Regions from separate parts of the Homo sapiens genome. Here all the other regions are linked to region 1. The links are contacts of gene promoters, found by promoter capture Hi-C in human tissues and cell types (Jung and others, 2019). All regions are on one chromosome and are shown on one strand. The core of a region is centred on a gene start or on the middle of the fragment in contact, and the rest is flanking DNA. Distances in the headings are between cores, read along the strand shown.

Region 1 (2,700 bases), core at 40-2,539:
ATATTGCAAGTTTCCCTAACTGCTCCTTCTCTCTCACCTCTAAGTCATTGTGCAGCCTGTTTATTTCAAATATCAAGACTCATATACATCAACTTCCTGTATTCAAACATAGTAGCTTCCACCAATCACTGCAGGGAGTTAGTTCATTCGTTAAATACATCATTAAAAATACTTATAATGCACCAATGACTTGCAAGGTACTGTGATTGGGGGGACTGATAAGTTAACAAGACATAACTGACCCTTCCCTCATACAGATTACATTCTAGCAGGAGCCAAAAAAGACATTAACCATCCGATTATAAATCATTTAGTTATATGATGTCGCAAAGGTTCTGTAAAAATATAGGGTAGAATGAGGCAAAGAACAAGGCGGGTAGGGGGACTCAGGTTCCTAAATAGGTTTTAGTAGATCTGTGACCTCCCTGAAATCTGTAAAATTTTGTCTGTGTCTGTATACATTTAATGGGGTGGTGGGGAGGTGGGGGTGTGCGGCAGGGATAGGAAGCACAGATTCCATGCTCAAGAGTCTGTGAATCCTAAGAGATTAAGAACCGGCCGGGCGTGGTGGCTTACGCCTGTAATCCCAGCACTTAGGGAGGCCGAGGCGGGCAGATCACCTGAGGTCGGGAGCTCGAGACCAGCCTGACCAACATGGAGAAACCCCGTCTCTACTAAAAATACAAAATTAGCCGGGCATGGTGGCACATGCCTGTGATCCCAGCTACTCGGGAGGCTGAGGCAGGAGAATCGCTTGAACCCGGGAGGCGGAGTTTGCAGTGAGCCGAGATCGCGCCATTGCACTCCAGCCTGGACAACAAGAGCGAAACTCCGTCTCAAATAAAAGAAAAAAAAAAAGGGAGAGATTAAGAACCACTCTACCCTTCATGTCCATTTGGGCGCTATTTATATACAAACCTTTTCCGCGTGGGAAGGCAGGGAGGGATAGAGGGAGAAGCCAGTAGCTTGGCGGTCTACTGAGAACGACCCCAGCTTTAGGCTTACAGACATCAAAAGTAATCACTCTTCTATATGAGAAAAGACAACACGCTCATTAATTTTTTAAAACGTAGTTACTTAAAAAGATTGGGAGATTTTCTATTCCTCTATCAATGGGGATTTCCAGGCACGTGCCCCACCCAAGGCCCACGCCCAGAGCGCCCGAGTGGCAGGACAACGCCCGCTGACATCTTCCCGTCCCGACGGCACAGGCTACTCCGAGCTCCGCCTTTTAGATTGCACCGAGAGAAGCCAGCTACAGCTTGGAGTCCAGGCCGGGTTTTCAAGCATCAAGACGGAAGTAACAGCGGAAAGGAAGTTCCAAGGCCCGCGCTGGGAAAAAGGTGGGGGGACCAGGGGAAGACTCGGAGTGCGATGGCGGCGCAAATTCCAATTGTGGCCACCACTTCCACTCCCGGAATAGTCCGGAACAGCAAGAAGAGGCCGGCCAGCCCTTCCCACAATGGCAGCAGCGGCGGGGGCTATGGCGCCAGTAAGAAGAAAAAAGCGTCCGCTTCCAGCTTTGCGCAGGTACGCAGTCGCGCTCCCAGGCTGCGCGTGCGCGTCGCGAAACGGGACTTGGCGGGGCGGAGCCGAGCCAGGGCGCGTGCGTAATGTGGGGCGCTGCGCGTGCGGTCTCCGTTGGGGTTGAAAGACGCTGCCCCGCGGAGTGAATGACTACTCTTTCCCTTCGTTTGGACACATGGGCTTACAACGCCTTGTGTTGTAAGGAGAGAAGAAGAAGTAGGGAGGTTATTACTGACTTAGTATTAATAGAAGGACTGCCTCTTCCCCTCGAGGTCGCCTTTAGCATGAGGTTCAGGACTAATGAGTGTCAGTCATTCAGAAATTTGCGTGTCTTCCCCTCGTCCATTCTGCAGACATCTACCCAGTGTCTTTGAGGCGCATAGCGCTGTAATGTCCTGCATGGATGAATACAAGATGTATTGATAAGTATGCTTTCTCTCATCCTGAGAAAAGTGCTTTTTTGACCCTGGGTTTCCCAATCCAAAGGCAGGTTTGGTCTTAACTCATGGGCTTGTTAAGGTTATGAAGTAATGAGTGTAAAGGCACTGAGCTCAGCGCCTGGCTCAGACGTCAGGGCCTCTGAACAATCTAGGTTCCGTAATTCCAGCAATGAATTTTCAGCAGGGAGTGGCTTGATTAGTGTTTTCTCTGGCTCCTGCATTTTATTCAAAGCAAAAAAGCAGAGATAGAGTGTGTTACTTTGTGCTCCTCAGCATATGGTGTGACACCACCGTTCACCCAGTCAGTCAGTGGCTGTTCTAGAAATCTTGTTCCTTCTTCTGTAGGTGATTGGTAGTGCTTTTTATTTTAACCTTTTAATATTAAATACTTTGCTATAGTAAGATTTACACAGAGTACAATGCACAAATTTTCAAGAATACTGGCTGAACCACAGATCTTCAAGAATCCTGTCTCACGCCTGTATCCCAGCACTTTGAGAGGCCAAGGTGAGAGGATTGCTTGAGGACAGGAGTTCGAGACCTGCTCCCCAACCCCCATCCAAATTTACAAATAGCTGGGCGTGATGGTGCACGCCTTTAGTCCCAACTACAAGAGCATCACTTAAGCCCAAGATTTCAAGGTTACAGCGAGCTATGATCGTGCCATTGCAGTCCAGCTTGGGCAACAGAGTGAGCCTATCGCAAACAAAACAAAACAAAACAAAACTACAGA
Region 2 (2,700 bases), core at 114-2,613, 220 kb before region 1:
GTTCTCATAGTTTTTTAGCGGGTTCCCTGAAATTTTCTAGATACAAAATGATGTCATCTGCAAAAACAGTTTTATTTCTTCCTCTTCAATCTGGGTGCATTTTCTTGACTAGTTGTTCTGGCTAGAACTTTCAGTACAATGTTGAATAGATGTGGCAAGAATAGACATCCTTGTCATGTTCCTGATCTTAGGGGAAAAGCATCCAGTCTTTCACCATTAAATATGATGATAGCTGTGGACTTTTCATTGGGGCCCATTATCAAATCGAGGACATTCCCTTTTAGTCCCGGTTTTGTTTGTTTTAACCGTAAAAGCATGTTGGATTTCCTGTTCTTTATTAAGATGATCATGTGGCTTTTGTTCTTTATTCTATTAACATGGTGTATCACATGGATTGATTTTCAAATGTTAAAACAACTTTGCATCCATAGGATAAATACCACTTCATCATGGTGTATAATCCTTTTAATATGCTGCTGCATTTGGTTTACTAGTATCCTGTAGAGGCTATTTGCATCTACAGGCACACCTCAGAGATATTGCAGGTTCAGTTCCACACAACAGCAGTAAAGTGAATATTGCATTAATAAAGTGAGTCACACAATTTTTTGTTTCCCAGTGCATATAAAAGTTATGTTTACACTATACTGTAGCCTAAGTGTGCAATACCATTATGTCTAAAAACAAAACAATGTATATTCTTAATTAAAAATACTTTACTGCCAAAAAATGCTAATGTTCACCTGAGTCTTTAATGAGTCCCAATCTTTTTGTTAGTGGAGAGTCTTGCCTCAATGTTGATGGCTGTTGACTGTTCAAGGTGGTGGTTGCTGAAGGTTGGGTGGTTGTAGAAATTTCTTAAAATAAGACAATGAAATTTGCTACATTGATTGAGCCTTCCTTTCACAGAAGATTTTTCTGATGCTATATGATAGCATCTTACCCACAGCAGAAGTTCTTTCAAAATTGGGGTTTTCTTAAACCTTCCCTCTGCTTTATCAACTAACTTTATGGAATATTACAAATCTTTTGTTGTCATTTCTACTATGTTCACAGCATTTTCACCACGAGGATTTCATCTCAAGAAAACATTTTCTTTGCTCATCCATAAGAAGCAACTCTTCATCAATTCAAGTTTTATGATGAGATTGAAGTATTCAGACACATCTTCAGGATAATTCTAGTTCTCTTGCTATTTCTACATCTGCAGGTATTTCCTCTACTGAAGTTTTGGATCCCTCAAAGTCACCCATGAAGGTTGGAATCAACTTCTTCCAAACTCCTGTTCGTGTTGGTATTTGACCCCCTCTCATGAATCATGAATGTTCTTAATGGAATTTAGAATGGTGGATCCTTTTCAGAAGGTTTTCAATTTACTTTGCCCAGGTCTATCAGAGAAATCACTATCCATGACAGCTATAGCCTTATTAAATCTTATTTCTTAAATAATAAGACTTGAAAGTCTGAATTAATCCTTGGTCATGGGCTGCAGAATGAATGCTGTGTTAGCAGGCATGAAAATATTAATCTTGTTTTACATCTCCATCAGAGCTCTTGGGTAACTAGGTGCACTGTCAATGAGCAGTAATGTTTTGAAAGGAATCTTTTTTTCTGAGCAGTAGGTCTCAACAGTGGGCTTAAAATATTTAGTAAACCATGCTATAAACAGATATGCTGTCATCCAGGCTTTGTTGTTCTACTTGTAGAACACAGTCAGAGTAGATTTAGCATAATTCTTAAGGGCACAAGGATTTCTGGAATGGTGAATGAGCATTGGCTTCAACTTAATGTCACCAGCTGCAACAGCCCCTAACAAAAGAGTCAGTCTTTACTTTGAAGACAGGTATCAACTTCTCCTCTCTACCCATTAAAGTCCTAGATGGCATCTTCTTCCATTTTAGGCTAGATGCCTAAAATCAACAGAAGGCTCTTTTGTCTATATTGAAAATCTATTGTTTAGTGTAGCCACCTTCTTCAATGATCTTAGATTTTCTGGATAACTTGCTGCAGCTTCTGTATTCGCACTTGATGTTTCACCTTACACTTTTATGTTATGGAGATGTCTTCTTTCCTTATACCTCATGAACAACCTCTTATTTTCAAACTTTACTTCCACAGCTTCCTCTCTGCTCTGTCTTCATAGAATTGGAGACAGCTATGGCTGTGTTCTGAATTAGGATTTTGCTTAAGGAAATGTTGCAGTTGGTTTGATCTTCTATCCAGACCATTAAAACTTTCTCCATATCAGCAATAAGGCTATTTTGCTTTCCTATCGTTTGTGTGTTCACTGGAGCAGCATTTTAAATATCCTCCAGGCACTTTTCTTTTGCATTCACAACTTGGCTAACTGGTGCAAGAGGCCTAGTTTTTGGACTATCTCAGCTTTCAACATGGCTTCCTCACTAAGCTTAATCATTTCTAGCTTTCAATTTAAAATGAGAGATATGTGAATCTTCTTTTCACTCTAACACGTAAGAGACCAATGTAGGATTATTAATTGGCCTTATTTAAAAATTTCTGTGTCCCAGGGAATAAAGAGGGCTGAGGAGAGGGAGAGAGACAGCAGAAGGACCAATGAGTGTAACAGTCCACATGCACGCACACATGCATGCACACACACACAATTTATCATTTAAGTTCATCCTCTCATACGGGTGTAGTCTGTGATGCCCCCAAACAATTACAATAGTATCATCAAAT
Region 3 (2,700 bases), core at 181-2,680, 170 kb before region 1:
TTTCCATAATAAAAAGTCTTCTAAAACTTTTTTTTTTTAAAAAAGGTTATCAGTCCAGAGATAGAGTGAAGATATAAAAAGGCTACTCAGTGGTAGTAGTGACTCTGCGCTACCTCCTAGGCAGCCCAGTCCCACAGAGACCCAGCAGTTGGCCAGAAGGACTGTGTATTGGCAGCTTTCACAAAAGTGGACTTCGTCAAGTCTGAAGAGTCTTCAAGTGTGAAACTTGGTGCACAAGCATTTGTATCACACCATTTCAACACTATTCCTAATATCATAAAGCTGTTCAATGTCCAAAAACTGGTGACTTACAATGCACTTAAAAGGCACTCATTAATAAAAGTATCTTCAAAAACCACATAAAGACAAAAAGACATAAATATTTAATAAAATGTGTTAAGAGTGGTGATATACTTAGGGGGGTTATTAAAATGACAAAAACAATTCTACCAGAAACAATAATAGTTGATTGAGGCTCTTGAAGTAAATGTAAGGTTGTTTATAATACAGGCATCATTTTAACTGTAGACTGTGGAGAGTCTATAGTTTTCTTCAACAATGTTTAAATTTTCAGGAAAGCAAATGGTTTGTGAAAAATCTTTACAAATTAAGCTTCTCTTGACTGATCTCCACTTAATCAACTTGCCAGATAAAGAGATACTCTTCATCTCCTTGGTTTAATTTTTACATGCACAATATTCAACAGTTACCTTATTATGACTTATTCATGGCTAAGCCATGTAGTAGTAAACTATGATTACTTTTGTTTTCTCTGAACAATTTTTTTAAAGTTTTCCCTGAAGGTAATGCTCATTTAATTTTTTTCTTACTATGGTTTTCTATGTATTTCAATCCCAAACTTCCTATCAATTGTCTAAATCTACTCTAGACATTCAGCCATATCAGGTGTAACTTCAATGGTATCTTTTTGAAGTCTCTTCTGGAATTTTCTCACTGGCTCCATCTGGGCTGGTCGCCTCTGCCTGTGCAACTCTCACTCAGGCTCTCCCTTCATCACCTTCTGGTCATTCTCACCATTTCTTACACAAGCTGAATCTCCTGTTTTTTACATTCTATGTCTCTCTTGTCCTTGGTTTATTTAAAACCAAGGTTTTAAATGGTAGCGTCCTATCTCTAGTAACTTCCTGAGAATGGATGCTTGGGAGTTCAATGTTTTGAGATCTTGCATGTCCAAAAATATCCTTATTTAACCTGTGCACTTTATTGCAAGTTTGGCTGAATATAAGATTTTAGATTGGAAATTATTTTCCTTTAGAATTTTGCTCCTTTGTTTCTAGAGTTGCTGAGAAGTCTGAAGGCATTCTGATTAATAACCTTTTGATTGTGACCTTCTTTCGCCTCTTAAGAAACCTGTAAAAGGTCTTTTTTCCCCCCTGGGGGTTGAAATCCTCAGTGTTCTGAAAGTCACAATGTCTTGGAGTACAGTCTATTTTCATCTATTGTCCCAAAAAGTTGGTGGGCTCTTTCAATTTGAAAATTTGTGCAGTTCAGTTATGGAAAATTTTGTGGATAAATTTTCTCTTCCCTATTTTTAAAATTCTTTTTGAGACTCCTATTATTAAAATATTGGATTTCTTGATTGTTATTTCAATGTTCATATAATTTTACTGTTGTCCATCTCTTTGGTGCATTTTTCTTTATTTTCAAAAGCTCTTTCTGGTTCTCTCAGTGTATCTTTTGAATAATATCCTATTCTCATTTTATGGTTGTAATATATTCTCTATTTTGTTGAGGTTATTAGTTATTTCTCTTTATGTGTTCTACCTTAATAGTTTTTGTTTCCTCAAAGTTGCTTTTCTCTGTTTGTTGAGGGTTTCCTGAGATGTCTAGTATTCCTTGCTTACCTATTTGTTATTAAGAATGGAAGACCAAGAGGCTGAATATGAGGCCTAAACACATGAGTAGGACTCAATGACTATGAGTTTCCATAAGGGTGATCAGGCTGTGCCATTAAGTTGGAAACTTTCCCAAGTCAATCAGCACTAAAGTGCAATTTGTTGGAAATTCAGCACATACTTTTCATTCATATACTATCAGGACCACACTAGGTACTTACCCTTCTCTCTAGGCCTATCCAATTCTGATGAGAAAGATCTTCCAGTCTCTTCTCTGGAGGAGGCAAGCTTGGCTGCCAGCATCAATGAGAGCAAGGAGTTTAGGGGGCCTCAGCACAGAATGTACATGTTCACTTACTCTACCTATTTTCTGTATAGTTTGCTTGCTTTTAACTGGGCCTATGGTACTCTAGTACCTTGTATTACCTTCTTCTTATGGAGCAACTAGACATCTAACTAATATATTGCTGATAGGAGTGTAAATTGGTATAAACATTTTGGGAAAATATTTGGTAGCACATGCTAATGCTATATAAATGCATAACCTATTCCTTTCTCTAGTACATAGCATACGGTAATGGGCACTTAAGTCCTCCAAAAGACATGAACAAGAATGTCACAATAGCTTTATTTATAGGGGTCAAAAAGTAGAAATAATCCAAAGGTCTATCAATGTATAAATAAACAATGGCATATTCATATTACAAATCACTATTTGCAGTAGAAAAGAATAAAATTCTGATACATGCAACAATATGAATCTTAAAGGCACAAAAAATGGTGTGGATCCATCATAAAAAGTTCAAAAAGAGACAAAACTAATCTATGTTTAGAGAGGTCAATA
Region 4 (2,700 bases), core at 111-2,610, 190 kb before region 1:
ATTATTAGTGTTGTTTTAGGTAACACATGTTTATATATTGAATCTAATAAGCCAGATGAATCAGAACAGTGGTATCAGCTGGGTGATATGTGACTATACAAGTGGAGACACCATGAATCCACCAAAAGTATAAAGCAAGGAAAATACATTAAAATGTGTTTTAATTTTTCAGAGAAAAATGACATTTATGTGAGAATGAAATATAAGTGATATGGGATCAGTAAACTTCAATATATGTTAAGGCACAAACAAAAAAATCAAGGTCTATTTTGCTCAAATATTAAACAGAGCAATTGTTTGCAGTCAGGCTTCTCTCACACAACTCACTGAACTGTGCACCCTGCCACTTGACAGTCTTGCAGTAACTAAAAAATAAGGATGGACTAGTAACAATGTCAGGCCGACTTATAGCTGATGGAACAACTGTTCCTACAAAACTCTGAATAGCAAAGTTTCCGGAAAGAAGGCCCTGTGGCACGTTTTGGGCTCTCAGTGGCCTTGTGATACTTGACGAAAGCCTCCTATGACAGCATTGAGGGCCTGCTTATAGAGAACGTTCATGACCCACTGCAAAAACAGTGGTTTTGTTATGTTGAATGAAAACTCCAAGAATCAAGAAAAAGTCATATAAGCTAGAAAAATGGCTGAAAATTTAACAAGATGAAACTTCACAGGAATAAATACTAAATGTTGCAGTTAGGTTTTAAAAAAAATAGAACATCTGCAAAACCTGGGCTAGCAACACTGACCTGGATAATTTATTACTGTTAATTATATATTATTCTAGGCATTCTGCCAAGCACTTTCTATACTGTGTGTGATTTCATTCATTCCTTACAATGACCTTATGAGGCAGGTGTTCACCTCTGCTCAAAGCTTCACTTCTAACCTTCTTACTTCTCCTCCAGGATCAGGGTCAACAAAGGTACAGCCTTGTATTTCTAATGCAAAACAACGCTAACCTGGAGAAATTATATAGAAGAAATTCTTGAATTCATCCATCCACACTTCTGCAAGTCGTCTGTTATTTTTATTGATAATCTGCCCTGTGCCTCCTGGAAACGTGTAAGGTGTAGCTTTCCGAAACACATGTCCAACATGTGAGCATGTAACAATTTCCAAAGTTCCTCCACACTGCCAAATCTGAAAACAGCAGAGATGACCATGTAACATGTAGCTGAGTAATCAGGAAATGTTCACCTTAGTTTTCCCATAGTATTTTTCTTTTCAATTAAATAGGGGTTTGGCTTTTGTTTAAACTTAAATGGAACATATTGTAGTTACTGGTAAAAAGCTTCCAAAGTACCTCCATACTACCAAATCTGAAAATAACAGCAAAGACCATATATGACATTGATAGTTTTTAAAAAAGTATTGACATCTATTGGGTTCCACAGTTGGAATTTCGCAAAATCAGGGGCACATGATGGGCTCCGGCTGTATGGTTAGGTTACAAAGCCAGTGCTTCCTCAAGAGAAACATTTCTCTAATTTGGGTTCTGATCAAACCAAAAGTTGAAGATTAAAATAAAGAAAACATAGGTTAAAGGCTAAATACAGAAAAGATATGGGATCTAGAGCAGTATTTTTCTAACTGCAGGCCATTATACCTAAGAGAATCATAAATTCAAATTGATGAATTGCAACCTGTACTTGTTAACAAGGACATACTGTTTCATAAAATGTTTAAATTTTATGTTTTGTGTGTGCAGAATGTATAATGTATTTATTAATGTGGCTCATGGTTAAAAACAACCACCAAACAAAACCTGACCATGGAGTAACCAGCCAGATGCTCATCTGTTCACCCCTCTCCAAACCTGCGTCACGGCTTGTACATGAAACAGAACCTAGGAATCTCAACTAGATCCATTGTAAGTTCTTCAGTGAGACAGTAAAAGCATGTTTTGTTGTCTTTGTTAGAACAATAAAAACAAAAAAAGGGGCAGAAGAAAGATGATCAAGTATGGGCTTACATCCTTAATTTAATGAAATCCTTCTGTTTCTTTCAAAATACATTCCCCCCACCAAGTTAAAAATCTCATAACTCTTTATAATTAAAATAACATTTTGGAAAGTTCTGATTTTGTTAAATATTCAGTGTTCCTACCTTCAAGTTTTCCCAGGATTATAAGTGTTAGAGCTGGATAGGATCTCCAAGGTGATATTGAGTCCAACCCTCTCTTTGACAAGAAGGCAAAGCGATTCACTGGGAACAAAGTGAGCTCGCTGGTTCAGATTACAGTACACGTCAGTGTGATTTCCACTATAATAAGCTATGTGTCTAAAGTTGGTTATTTGCAAAAATATGCAATGCCATTTAAACGATATGTTGATTCTAGTGAACATGAAATGCAAAGACTTTATATGTAGACTGGGTTAAATTAATTTAGAGTCATTTTAGAATTCTTTCGCATTTTTATTGAAAAATATAAAGCTGGTAAAGTGACTAGGTTTTATATAAAAAAAATTTTCACACTAAAATAAAAAGCATATTACAAAATGTGAAATTTATGTTTAAATGTGAAATTTATGTTTTTGAGAGTAAAGCAGCAAAGTAGCATATCCAAACTATATATTAGCTTTTAGAGCTTAAATTACTTCCTTGAAAATAATAAAAATTAAAAACAACTAGGGAATCTTGTGTAAGTTTTATAGCTGAACTTCAAAGGTAACTAAATTATTTGCTTCAATAGTTTAT
Region 5 (2,700 bases), core at 117-2,616, 230 kb after region 1:
AGACTGCTCTTTGGTACGCTATCTAGCACAGAGTAAATGCTGAAGTATTTGTTGAAAGAATCCATTTTTCTTTGTGCTGTTTCAGAACCTTGCGACTTAAAAGTCAAGAATAATTTTTCCTTGTTTCTACATTCACCTTGCCCATTCTCCATGATCCCTTCCTAACATTTTCACCATCATTTCTGATTTAGTATCAGCCAAGATTGTCCTGGGCATCAACCCATTCTGTAATAAAAAGAAATAAAAAGAGCAAGTACTGTAGAGTTGCAGCCTGGGTTCATGTCTCGACTTTGCTATTTACCAGTTTGTAGCCTTGGACAAATTACTTGGCTTTTAAGAACCTTAGTTTCCTCATTTGTAAAATTGAGATGATAATACCTGATGGTGTTATTGTCAAGCTCCAGTAAAATAGTATTTGTAAAGTGCTTGGCCCATAGTAGGTGTTTATTAAGTGTGAGTTCCCTTCTTTTGGGATGCCCCATAGCATAATAGAAAGAGCTAAAGACTTTGGTTGCAGAGCCCAGTTCTGCTGCTCCCTGGCTGTCTTTGGTCAACTTATGACTTAGTAGCCTCGTTAGGAAAATGGGCGTAATTTTTTTTTTTTTTTCTGAGGCGGAGTCTCTGTTGCCCAGGCTGGAGTGCAGTGGCGCCATCTTGGCTCACTGCAAGCTCCCCCTCCCGGGTTCATGCCATTCTCCTGCCTCAGCCTCCCAAGTAGCTGGGACTATAGGCGCCCGCCACCACGCCCGGCTAATTTTTTGTATTTTTAGTAGAGATGGGGTTTCACCATGTTAGCCAGGATGGTCTCGATCTTCTGACCTCGTGATCCTCCCGCCTCGGCCTCCCAAAGTGCTAGGATTACAGGCGTGAGCCACCGTGCCTGGCAAAAATGGGCATAATTTTGATTGTCCTTATAGAGTTGTTAGGAAAAGCATATAAAATTTATGTTAAGTATCAAGCTAGTGATCAATAAAATGGTGGTTATTTCTGAGATGTAATCATATACTATAGTGCTTTTCTTGCTCTCTATAATCTACAAGCACTATTTTATTATCCCTAATGTTGTTCCTAACAGTATTACTAAAGGCCAAATTGATTTCAGCCATACTAACATTTTTCTTTCACATCCTAAAAAAATCCTGAGTCATCTATAAATGTATCATTTATGTGGAAGTGCCCTGTTAGTCAGTTTTCTTTACAATGCTATGCTCCCTGGCAACTGGGCTTCAAAAACCTGTATTTATATTCCAAGTACATTATTTTCCCTGTGTAACATGAGCATTGTCCACCCTCAGGAGCGTCCTGGGGAGTTGGAATTCAGAAGGAATCTCTCAGACGCAAATCTCCATCTCCTCCCTGCCTCACCTGGGCAGCCTTTTCAGACTGTCTCTGCCCAGAATGTCAGGAGAGGCCACAGTCTTGGCCTACCATGCTCCAGAAGAACAGGAAGGACTTCTAGTTGTCAAGGTTGAAGAAGAAAATTATGTTTTGGACCAGGACTTTGGCCTTCAGGAAAACCCCTGGAGCCAAGAGGTATTCCGGCAGAAGTTCAGGCAGTTTAGTTACTCTGACTCCACTGGCCCTCGGGAGGCTCTGAGCCGGCTGCGAGAGCTTTGCTGTCAGTGGTTGAGGCCGGAGGTGCACTCCAAGGAGCAGATCCTGGAGCTGCTGATGTTGGAGCAGTTCCTGGCCATCCTTCCTGAGGAGCTGCAAGCTTGGCTGCGAGAGCATCGGCCAGAGAATGGAGAGGAAGCTGTGACTATGCTGGAGGAGCTGGAAAAAGAACTGGAGGAGCCAAGGCAACAGGTAAGAAGTAAACATTTTTGTTTGTTTGATCTATTGTAAGTTAATGGGGAAGCCATAATTATGACTGGGGCATTGACTCAGCTCTCAGAGAATTATACAGTTTCTTTCTTTTGGGTTATTAATTATTCACTCATTGGGTTCAAGTCACTAGGGCTCTTAAGGTCCTGTTTTTTTTCTCTCTAATCATTTGAATGAGTTTTTGATTCTTCTGTTCCTGCCCTGTTGCTCTAGGAGTTTTCTGCTTGTGTATCCTCAGAATGATAGTGCTGGTACTTGATTACTCCTAGGACACAACTCATGGCCAAGAAATGTTCTGGCAGGAAATGACATCCACAGGAGCACTGAAGTCTCTGTCTCTGAATAGCCCGGTGCAGCCCTTAGAGAACCAGTGCAAGACTGAGACTCAGGAGTCCCAGGCTTTCCAGGAGAGAGGTGAGAAGCCCCAGTCCATGTGGGGTTGAGGATGGAGGTGAGAGCTATCAACTGTGGCACGGTTCATTTTCTTAACGACAGCCACTTGTGGCTATCACTAAGTATTGTGGAAAGGCTTCTTTGCCTAGAAATATTCTTCCTTAGGCTCTGCCTAGAATCTGAAATTCCAGTATCATTTGTAACTTTGGGTTAAGAATTAAAGTCTTTAGTAAAATTCTCTAATACCCATAATTATTTTTTTTCTTTTTCTTTTTTCTTTTTTTTTTTTTTAGATGGGGTCTCACTCTATCACCCAGGTTGGAGTGCAGTGGTGCAACCACAGCTCACTGCAGCAGCCTTGAACCCCTGGGTTAAAGTGATCCTCCTGCCTCAGCCTCCAGAGTAGCTAGGACTACAGTTGTACACCACCATGCCTGGCTAAATATCCATAATATTCAAAGCTCAGTATTCTGTTATTTAATT

What was found. The method cuts DNA at HindIII sites, captures the fragments that hold promoters and counts their contacts. A contact is called where the count stands out against the background at its distance.
Region 2: a fragment that was not itself captured here is called in contact with the fragment with the promoter of INO80C in region 1 in 2 of the 25 tissues and cell types used here (IMR-90 fibroblasts and dorsolateral prefrontal cortex).
Region 3: a fragment that was not itself captured here is called in contact with the fragment with the promoter of INO80C in region 1 in 2 of the 25 tissues and cell types used here (H1 embryonic stem cells and dorsolateral prefrontal cortex).
Region 4: a contact is called between a fragment that was not itself captured here and the fragment with the promoter of INO80C in region 1, in 1 of the 25 tissues and cell types used here (spleen).
Region 5: a fragment that was not itself captured here is called in contact with the fragment with the promoter of INO80C in region 1 in 1 of the 25 tissues and cell types used here (dorsolateral prefrontal cortex).

The regions. Positions count from the first base shown.
Region 1 is chr18:35,496,549-35,499,248 of GRCh38, reverse strand. INO80C (INO80 complex subunit C) reads left to right here and starts at 1,289. Exons shown (of 5, transcript NM_194281.4): 1 at 1,289-1,530. The coding sequence starts at 1,375. RefSeq lists enhancers at 1,112-1,381, 1,732-1,851, 2,122-2,271. The HindIII fragment of the contact is 7,991 bases long and covers 1-2,700 here.
Region 2 is chr18:35,718,106-35,720,805 of GRCh38, reverse strand. LOC105372064 (a long non-coding RNA gene) reads left to right here. Exons shown (of 5, transcript XR_935377.3): 2 at 1,057-2,700. Among named protein-coding and RNA genes, the nearest start is that of MIR3975, 130 kb to the right of the region's middle. The HindIII fragment of the contact is 4,490 bases long and covers 1-2,700 here.
Region 3 is chr18:35,664,283-35,666,982 of GRCh38, reverse strand. All of the region lies in intron 3 of GALNT1 (polypeptide N-acetylgalactosaminyltransferase 1), which reads right to left. LOC105372065 (a long non-coding RNA gene) reads left to right here. Exons shown (of 2, transcript XR_935378.4): 2 at 46-360. Among named protein-coding and RNA genes, the nearest start is that of MIR3975, 74 kb to the right of the region's middle. The HindIII fragment of the contact is 5,015 bases long and covers 1-2,700 here.
Region 4 is chr18:35,689,455-35,692,154 of GRCh38, reverse strand. GALNT1 (polypeptide N-acetylgalactosaminyltransferase 1) reads right to left here. Exons shown (of 12, transcript NM_020474.4): 8 at 963-1,143. LOC105372064 (a long non-coding RNA gene) reads left to right here. Exons shown (of 5, transcript XR_935377.3): 5 at 1,712-2,079. Among named protein-coding and RNA genes, the nearest start is that of MIR3975, 99 kb to the right of the region's middle. The HindIII fragment of the contact is 3,097 bases long and covers 1-2,700 here.
Region 5 is chr18:35,263,051-35,265,750 of GRCh38, reverse strand. It overlaps ZSCAN30 (zinc finger and SCAN domain containing 30), which reads left to right. Exons shown (of 4, transcript NM_001112734.4): 2 at 1,296-1,806; 3 at 2,094-2,238. The coding sequence starts at 1,399. Among named protein-coding and RNA genes, the nearest start is that of ZNF397, 23 kb to the right of the region's middle. The HindIII fragment of the contact is 4,751 bases long and covers 1-2,700 here.